Linked DNA regions of Homo sapiens: region 1 is linked to region 2. Evidence: promoter capture Hi-C in 16 types of primary human blood cells and fetal thymus (Javierre and others, 2016). All regions are on one chromosome and are shown on one strand. Each heading gives the region's core, a stretch centred on a gene start or on the middle of the fragment in contact. The rest is flanking DNA. Distances are from core to core; before and after follow the strand shown. Region 1 has its middle 20 kb from the start of PNOC. Region 2 holds the start of NUGGC (nuclear GTPase, germinal center associated).

Region 1 (4,011 bases), core at 601-3,100, 210 kb before region 2:
TCTGGGAAGGGGAAGTTGAAGAGTGAACATGATCGTAATCTCTAAAATGGTAAGAGCAGTGGATAAAGTGGACATGCATTTATTTTTCAAATTCTGGAGGAGTTTCATAGGGAAGAAGCTTATGGAACCATTATCCCAAGAGGTGGTAGTGCCTGCAAAAGTAATTTCAAAGATTAAGATACTTGCAGAGATGACAGTTATAATTGGCTATTAGAGAAAATGGAATGCTTTGGGTGGCGCACCCCAGAGGCTGCTGTCAGGGCTGTACATTTCCAGCTGCAGAGGCAGAGAGTCATACCTAGCTTGGCCCTTCTCATATCCTTGGGAGGCAGTTTGCTCCAAGAGATGCATCTTGCTTTCAGAACACATTCCCATTGACTTTTTTTTTTAAACACAAAACAATCATTTATTGCTGACTGAGCTCAGGAGGTGGTTCTCACTGGGGGTCTCTTGTGAGGATGCAATAAGACATTGATGGGAGGTGCAGTCATCTCAAAGGCTGTCTGTTGATGCTGTCTGTTTGCCAGGACCTCCACTGGGGCTGAGGACTAGAATGAATATACTCAGCCTCTCCATTGTTGCCTGGGTTTCTTCACAACATGGCAGCAGGGATTGAAGAGCAAGCGTCCCAAGAGAGAGCCAGGCTAAAGTACCTTTCATAGTCTAGCCTTGGAACACATGCAGTGTCACTTGTGCTGTTTTCTGTTGTCTTCCTTAGAAATGTGTCCCTAAGTCCAGCCCATATTCAAGACTAGGGGAATAGACTTTACCTCTCGAGGGGTGACCCATCAACTTGAAAAAAAAAAAAACCTGGTTGTTGTTTTATCATTGTCACACATTGATAATAATTATACCTAACATTCCCCCCATTCCACCCATTCAATGAGTCAAGCATTCAATCATTTAGCAAATACTTATTGCTAGGCATTTTGTCCATACTTACATCTGAATAGGGCTTCACAGTTTCCAGAGAAACTTTGTAACAAGTATTTGACTCGGTGTTCTCAACAACCATGCATGAAAGGCTAGGTGTGTTTAATTACTTCCATTTCTCAGATAAGGCAGTAAGAGGCTGGGAACTCATCCAAAGTCTCTGAGCTAGTGCCTGGTCCAGAGGTCATTCAAACCCAAGTCTGTCCTGGAAGGGCATTCTTTCCACTTACCACCCAGGACACCATCTTCCTCTCTCTCTCAAAATATCCAAGACCGGAGAGGAGGATAGACAGCCAGATAGACTTGCTCTGAGGTACTATGGCTTTTGCATGGGGTGGCCACAATTGAGGTATTTGAGGCATTTGAGGGTGAAAGGCAGCGCTATTGATAATGACCCTGGGGTGACAGGCACGAACCAGGCATACTGGACATAGGGTCACTTCACCCACAAATGCTCAAATAACTGGAACCCAAGTGTCTTGTGCTTTTCTGCCAAATCATGCCTTATTTTTTTAAACTTCCTACCTCTTTAAGCAAAACCAACAAATGCTATCAATGCCACAAGGATATGAGTGACCCATAGCTCCCCAGGAGAAGGCACAAGGGCATCTATGTGCTCACATGCAATTGCTTGGCCAGCTCCTGGAACCTGCTCCATTCCAAGTGAACTGAAGGGGTCTGGGGTGTGAGTTTGGGGTTGCTGGGCAGAGGCCTGCAAGGAGATGGTCCAGCCACCCCAGGCGTCTCATTTCCCTCTCCTGCTGCATCATTGGTTGGGGAGGCAGGAAGACCACATTCTGGAGAGAGTGGCATTGGGGAGCCGTGGAGTGAATATTAGGCCTCGGTGTAGCCCTTGCTGGGCAGAAATGGCTGGGCCTTTGTACCCCACCCACCTCTGTCACTGGGTGCTGGGTTTCCCAGGAAGGATGCAGCCTCCAGTGGCACAGACATCTCTAGTCGAGGCAGATCCCGAAGGAACTGAGAGCTAGCAGCTTTGTGCTGACCATGCTTCCCACAGCCAGGCCCTAAGGCTTTCCTTCAAGGGGGACCTGGGTGGAGCATCTCATGCCCCCTCAGGCTGTAGAAAGAACCAGAAAATAGAAAGAAAATGTCTATTTAAAATTAGATATGGTCTCAGAACTTAAGGGATCCAGATCTGGTGTAGATTCTATTACTTGTTAGTTCGCGTGACCTTGGACATGTCCTTTTCCCTTCCTGGAACTCACTGTCCTCATCTGTAAAAGTGAGAGAGCTGAATTAGCTTTGGAGCTGGCCTGGCTCCACCCTGCTGTTTTGTAGTCATGAAGTCATTTAATACCTGGGCTGGGCAGACTTCTCTCTCTGTTAGAGTGGGTTGGAGCAAGCCTATCTGCTCTTGGTTGGGAATATTTGTTACAGGCTATTCAAAGTAAACTAGAAGACCCCCCAGAGAATAACGTTTTAAATGGAACTGCAGAAAAATCTATTGTGACTGGTAAGTGGCTAAAGAACAGAAAATCCCTAGGGAGTGATTGGATGCCACTTGTCACACTTGGAAAAGATTTAACTTATCCATTAATGGGAAAGAGTGTGTAGAGTTGTGGCTAATAACTGCATTGTGCCGCACTTAGCATTTATGAAGAACAAATTGTGTTTTTCCTGTTGTTTGGATTTTACTTCCTTCCTGAAAACCCTTCACCAGCCTCTTCTGTGTCTTGTAAGCATCGACTTCAAATGGCACATTGGATGTGCAAGGTTTTTAGAAACTAATGAATTATCTGTAGCTTTCCATTACTCTTATCTCCCGTTCCAAGGTAATTAAAAGATGGCTGTGCCACTGAATAATTTCAAGCGTGTTGTCCAGTTATCTAATCTGCAGTATTTATCTTCTCTGCATTGCTGAATACCTTCTTCTCTCCTGGTCAAAGAAATCTCGGAGGCTTCACTTCTTTGGTAGATTGCTGACACCAGGGATGGCAGGTTGCCCCGGCCCCGTGAGTCCTCTGGGCAGTCAGGTGTCAGCAGAGTGGAGTGGGAGCTTCAGTGACAGGTTGGCGTCTTAGAACATTCCACCCCCTGACTCCTTGCAGAATGGGTGGGACATAGAGTGAAAGCCAGGGACTTGGGGAGGCAGGAGTCTCTGCAGCTCGCAGACGCAGAGTTCTGTCTTCTTGTCATCTGCTGGAGAGAGATTCAGGGAGCCATCATTTCTGCCAGGTCGGGGGGCCCAGATGCAGCCCCTTTGGGCAGCAGGGCCAACTCTGTGCTGCTAGTCTTCAGTGGGGAGGAGGGGACAGGGAGCCAAAGTTGGGGGGCTTGTCCAGTTGGCAATGGTCATTTGTGGGCTACAGTTGAGGCAGCCCCTGAAGGGGCAGAGTTTTCTAGAGACGACTTCCAAGGTGGGTTTTGAGGAAAGCAAGGGATCTTGAGGAATGGAGGGGAGTAGGGCACCATAAGGAAACACCAGCACAGGACTCACATATGCTGGGAGACAGAGCTTGGCTGCCACCAGGGCCCAAATGGGGTTGGAAGGCAGATGCAGCGGAATGACCGTTAGTGATCAGAAGTGCTTCCTCTCCGTTTTCTGCCAGGAATCCGATGAGTTGGACTGGAATCACTACAGGTTCTTGAGCTAGTGGGGAAATGCATTTGGAGCATTTGGAAGCTTTGGAGAATGGATCAGAGTGGGGAAGAGACTGCATGGTAGGGGAGCAGCCCTCCTAGGGAGACAGCTGTAGCCCAGGTATGAGGAAAGGGAGGGGAAGGTGTTGTGGAAATGTCAAAGTCAAAGTGCTGTACATTTCTTGCTTAATGTCATCAATCCCTTCCAGGAACCTGGACCTCTGACCCTGGTAATATCCCAAACAGCTCCACAATGCTCCATTTCCAATGTCACTGCCCTGTCCCTAGTTGGGCCCCTAATGTTGTAAACTTGGACTGTTATAAAGAGCTTACCAAGACTTCTTGGCTCAATCTCCTCTTCTGATTACAGCATCTTCACTGCTTCCAGAGTCATCTTATCAAAACACAGCTAGGAGCCCCTCGTCCTGCTCACACACCCTCCGAGTCACCCATTGCCTCCAGGTGAGACTGAGACTC
Region 2 (3,657 bases), core at 1,003-3,502:
GGTGACAGAGTGAGACCCTGTCTAAAACAAACAAACAAAAACAAGCAAACAAATAAAGGAACTCAGGAAGCTTTATTTTTTTATTTTTTGAGATGGAGTCTCCCTTTGTCGCCCAGGCTGGAGTGCAGTGGCCTGATCTTGGCTCACTGCAACCTCTGCCTCCCATGTTCAAGCAATTCTCCTGCCTCAGCCTCCTGAGTAGCTGGGACTACAGGCACACACTGCCATGACCGGCTAGATTTTGTATTTTTAGTAGAGACAGGGTTTCACCATGTTGGCTAGGCTGGTCTCAAGCTCCTGACTTCAGGTGATCTGTCCACCTCGGCCTCCCAAAATGCAGGGATCACAGGTGTGAGCCACTGGGCCTTGCCCCAGGAAGCTTTAAAAATGCTCAAAATTAATTTTAATAATTAAGTAATTTAGTAGCATTTGTGGTTAACTGTTGAAGCTAAGAAATAGCCAGTAGAGGGAGAGCTGAGCACACGTGACATGAATGTAAGCGTAAGGTGTGATTTTGCCTAGAGAGATCAGTATAAGACTCAGCATCCAGGATGGCATTTGTGCTGACTTTCTTTGTTCTGAACTTTAGCCTGGTGTTTCTGTGGTTTTCTTATGGAGGAGGGACGTCATCTTGCCAAAAGTTCAAAGCAGTTTTTAAGACCACAGTCTAAACATTTATCTTCAATTCTTTCCCTGTTCTGACCTCTTTACCTTCTGAATCCCCTCTTCAGACTAAATACATACCTAGAGTACTGAGGGTTGTCTTGGTAATGACTGAGTTGGCCTTTAAAGGTAACATACACCCTTGGCCCAGCACAGTAGCTCATACCTGTAATCCCAGCACTTTGGGAGGCCAAGGTGGGCGGATCATATGAGATCAGGAGTTCGAGACCAGCCTGGCAAACATGGTGAAACCCTGTCTCTACTAAAATTAAAAAAAAAAAAAGTCAGGCATGGTGACGCACCCCTGTAGTCCCAGCTACTCAGGAGGCTGAGGCAGGAAAATCTCTTGAACCCGGAAGACGGAGGTTGCAGTGAGCTGAGACGGCGCCACTGCACTCTAGCCTGGGTGACAGAGCAAGACTGTGTCTCACAAAAAAAAAAAAAAGGTAACACACACCCTGAAGCTGAGGGTTCAAGGGACAACTTTTTCCCTGTATGTGATGTGATGGTTTGGGTTGCCAGACACAGCAAAGTGGAGTGGGTTTTATTTTCTTCTCTCCTGGACAGCACTTTCAAATTTTTGTTTTCTGGGTTTATTAAAAATATGAATTTAAAATTAGATGGGCGTGATGGAGCATGACCATGGTCCCAGCTACCCAGGAGGCTGAGGTGGGAGGATGGCTTGAGCCTGGGAGGTCGAGGCTGCTGTGAGCTATGATCACGCCACTGCACTCCAGGCTGGGTGACAGAGCAAGACCTTGTCTCTAACTAAATAAAGACATAAAAATATACGGATTTAAAATTTAAGTTCCAGAAAGAGGTGTAAAGCGGTATATCACTCATTTCTACACTCAAACAATCCAATGTTGTTTTATTTTTGGCAAATGTTATTTTTGGTGAATTTTAAGACTTTGGGTCAAGAATAACTTTATATTTATTATCTCATATCCTCCATCTCTCCCAGTCATGTCTTATAGTTGGGTGTCGGGGAGCCAGTGCTTTGTCTGTCTTGGAACTGGGGCATTTTTCCTGTCTGCTCCAGTGAACCAGTCATCTGAATATTGTTCACCCTCAGAGAAAAGATGCTGTGGAAGGATGCAGTGATGCACTTGGAAAGGAAAAAAGACATCTGTCTACTTGTAGGAACATGGCAGAGAAGGGTGCAAGATCCCCGTTTCATGTACCATTTAGATTTTTTTTTTTTTCGAGATGTAGTCTTGCTCCATCATCCAGGTTGGAGTGCAGTGGCGCGATCTTGGCTCACTGCAACCTCCACCTCCCAGGCTCAAGTGATTCTCTTGCTTCAGCCTCCTGAGTAGCTGGGACTACAGGGTTCTGCCACCACGCCTGGCTGATTTTTTTTTTTTTTTTGTATTTTTAGTAGAGTCAAGGTTTCACCATGTTGGCCAGGCTGCTGTTGTACTCCTGACCTCAAGTGATCTGCCTGCCTCAGCCTCCCAAAGTGCTGGGATTACAGGAGTGAGCCACCGTGCCTGGTGAATTTAGATTTAAGTGAAAGAAGACAGAATAAATCAGTATCTGTGGGAGGAGACCATGGTAAATAGCTCCCTGATGGCAAGTTGGTTTCACTTCTGCTGTGTAAACGTGGCTTTGTGATTGTGGCCCAAAGGGCTACGTACCCCAGCTGGTTCCAAATACCTGAACCAAGGAGAAGCTGCCACCATCTCCTCTGTGGACTCCTGTAACCAAACCAGAACTTTTTTTTTTTTTTTCTGTTCAGTGACATCTGGTAAGTTGTTTCTTTTATGTAATTTGTACTGTAACTTGTGGTTGATTTTTTAAAAATGGACCTTAATTTTTAGAACAGTTTTGAGTTTACAGGAATATTGAGAAGATAGTTTAGAGCATTCCCATGTAATTCCCACCCAACTTCCCCATTATCTTGTATTAGTGTGGTACATTTGTTACAACTGATGAACCGATACTGATACGTTATTCTTAAACTAAAGTCTGTGCTTGATTCAGATTCTTGGTTTTTATCTAACGTCTGCTTTCTACTGTGGCATCCTATCAGGATAGCACATTATATTTAGTTATGTTCCCTTAGGCTCCTCTTAGCTGTAGCGTTGTTTCTCAGACTTTCCTTGTTTTTGATGAATATGGCAGTTTTGAGGAGTACTGGTTGGGTATTTTGTAGGCTTCTCCTATTGGCATTTGTCTGATGTTTTTCTCATTATTAGACTGGAGTTATGGGTTTTGGGGAAGGAGTCCCAGAGTTAAAGTGCTGTTCTCATCACATCATATCAAGGGATAATATTGTCAACATGATTTAGGACTGTTGGTGTTGACCTTGACCACCTGGTAGAGGCAGCGCTTGTCTGGTTTCTCTGCTATAAGGTGATCCTTTCCCTGCTCCAATCTCCGCCGTGTTCTCTTTGGAAAGAAGCTGCTATGCACAGCACACACTTAAGGAGCAGGGAGTTTTATTCTACCTCCTTGAGGATGGAGTAGCTACGTAAATTATTTGGAATTCTTCTGTATATGGGACATTTGTCTCTTCTCTCTCCTTTGATTTTCTTAAAGCAAGTTATTTCTTGAGGGAAAGTGAATTTTACTTTTCTGTTTGCTTAAGTGAATTTTGGGGGTTTGGTTTGTTTGTTTTTGAGGCTTCGGTCTGTTACCCAGGCTGGAGTGCAGTGGTATGAACATGGCTCACTGTAATCTTCACCTTCTGGGCTCAAGTAATCCTCCTGCCTCAGCCTCCTGAATAACTGGGACTACAGATACATGCTGCCATGCCCAGCTAATTAAAAAAAAAATTGTAGAGATGAGGGTCTCACTTTGTTGCCAAGGCTGGTCTCAAGCTCCTGGGCCCAAGGGATCCCCTCTCCTCTCAGCCTCCCAAAGTGCTGGGATTACAGGCATGAGCCACCATGCTCAGGCTGTTTAAGTGAATTTTAAGGCTATGTAAAAAGGCCAGTGGGCTAGAAATGGGGAGAATCAGGTTTTAGTTTGAATTTTACAGAACAGTGT

The links. The method cuts DNA at HindIII sites, captures the fragments that hold promoters and counts their contacts. A CHiCAGO score of 5 or more calls a contact.
Region 1: a fragment that was not itself captured here is called in contact with the fragment with the promoter of NUGGC in region 2 in 2 of 17 cell types (M1 macrophages and endothelial precursors); the score reaches 5.7 in M1 macrophages.

The regions. Positions count from the first base shown.
Region 1 is chr8:28,295,341-28,299,351 of GRCh38, reverse strand. No RefSeq gene overlaps it. Among named protein-coding and RNA genes, the nearest start is that of PNOC, 20 kb to the left of the region's middle. The HindIII fragment of the contact is 3,459 bases long and covers 121-3,579 here.
Region 2 is chr8:28,082,531-28,086,187 of GRCh38, reverse strand. NUGGC (nuclear GTPase, germinal center associated) reads left to right here and starts at 2,252. Exons shown (of 19, transcript NM_001010906.2): 1 at 2,252-2,413. The HindIII fragment of the contact is 3,402 bases long and covers 382-3,657 here.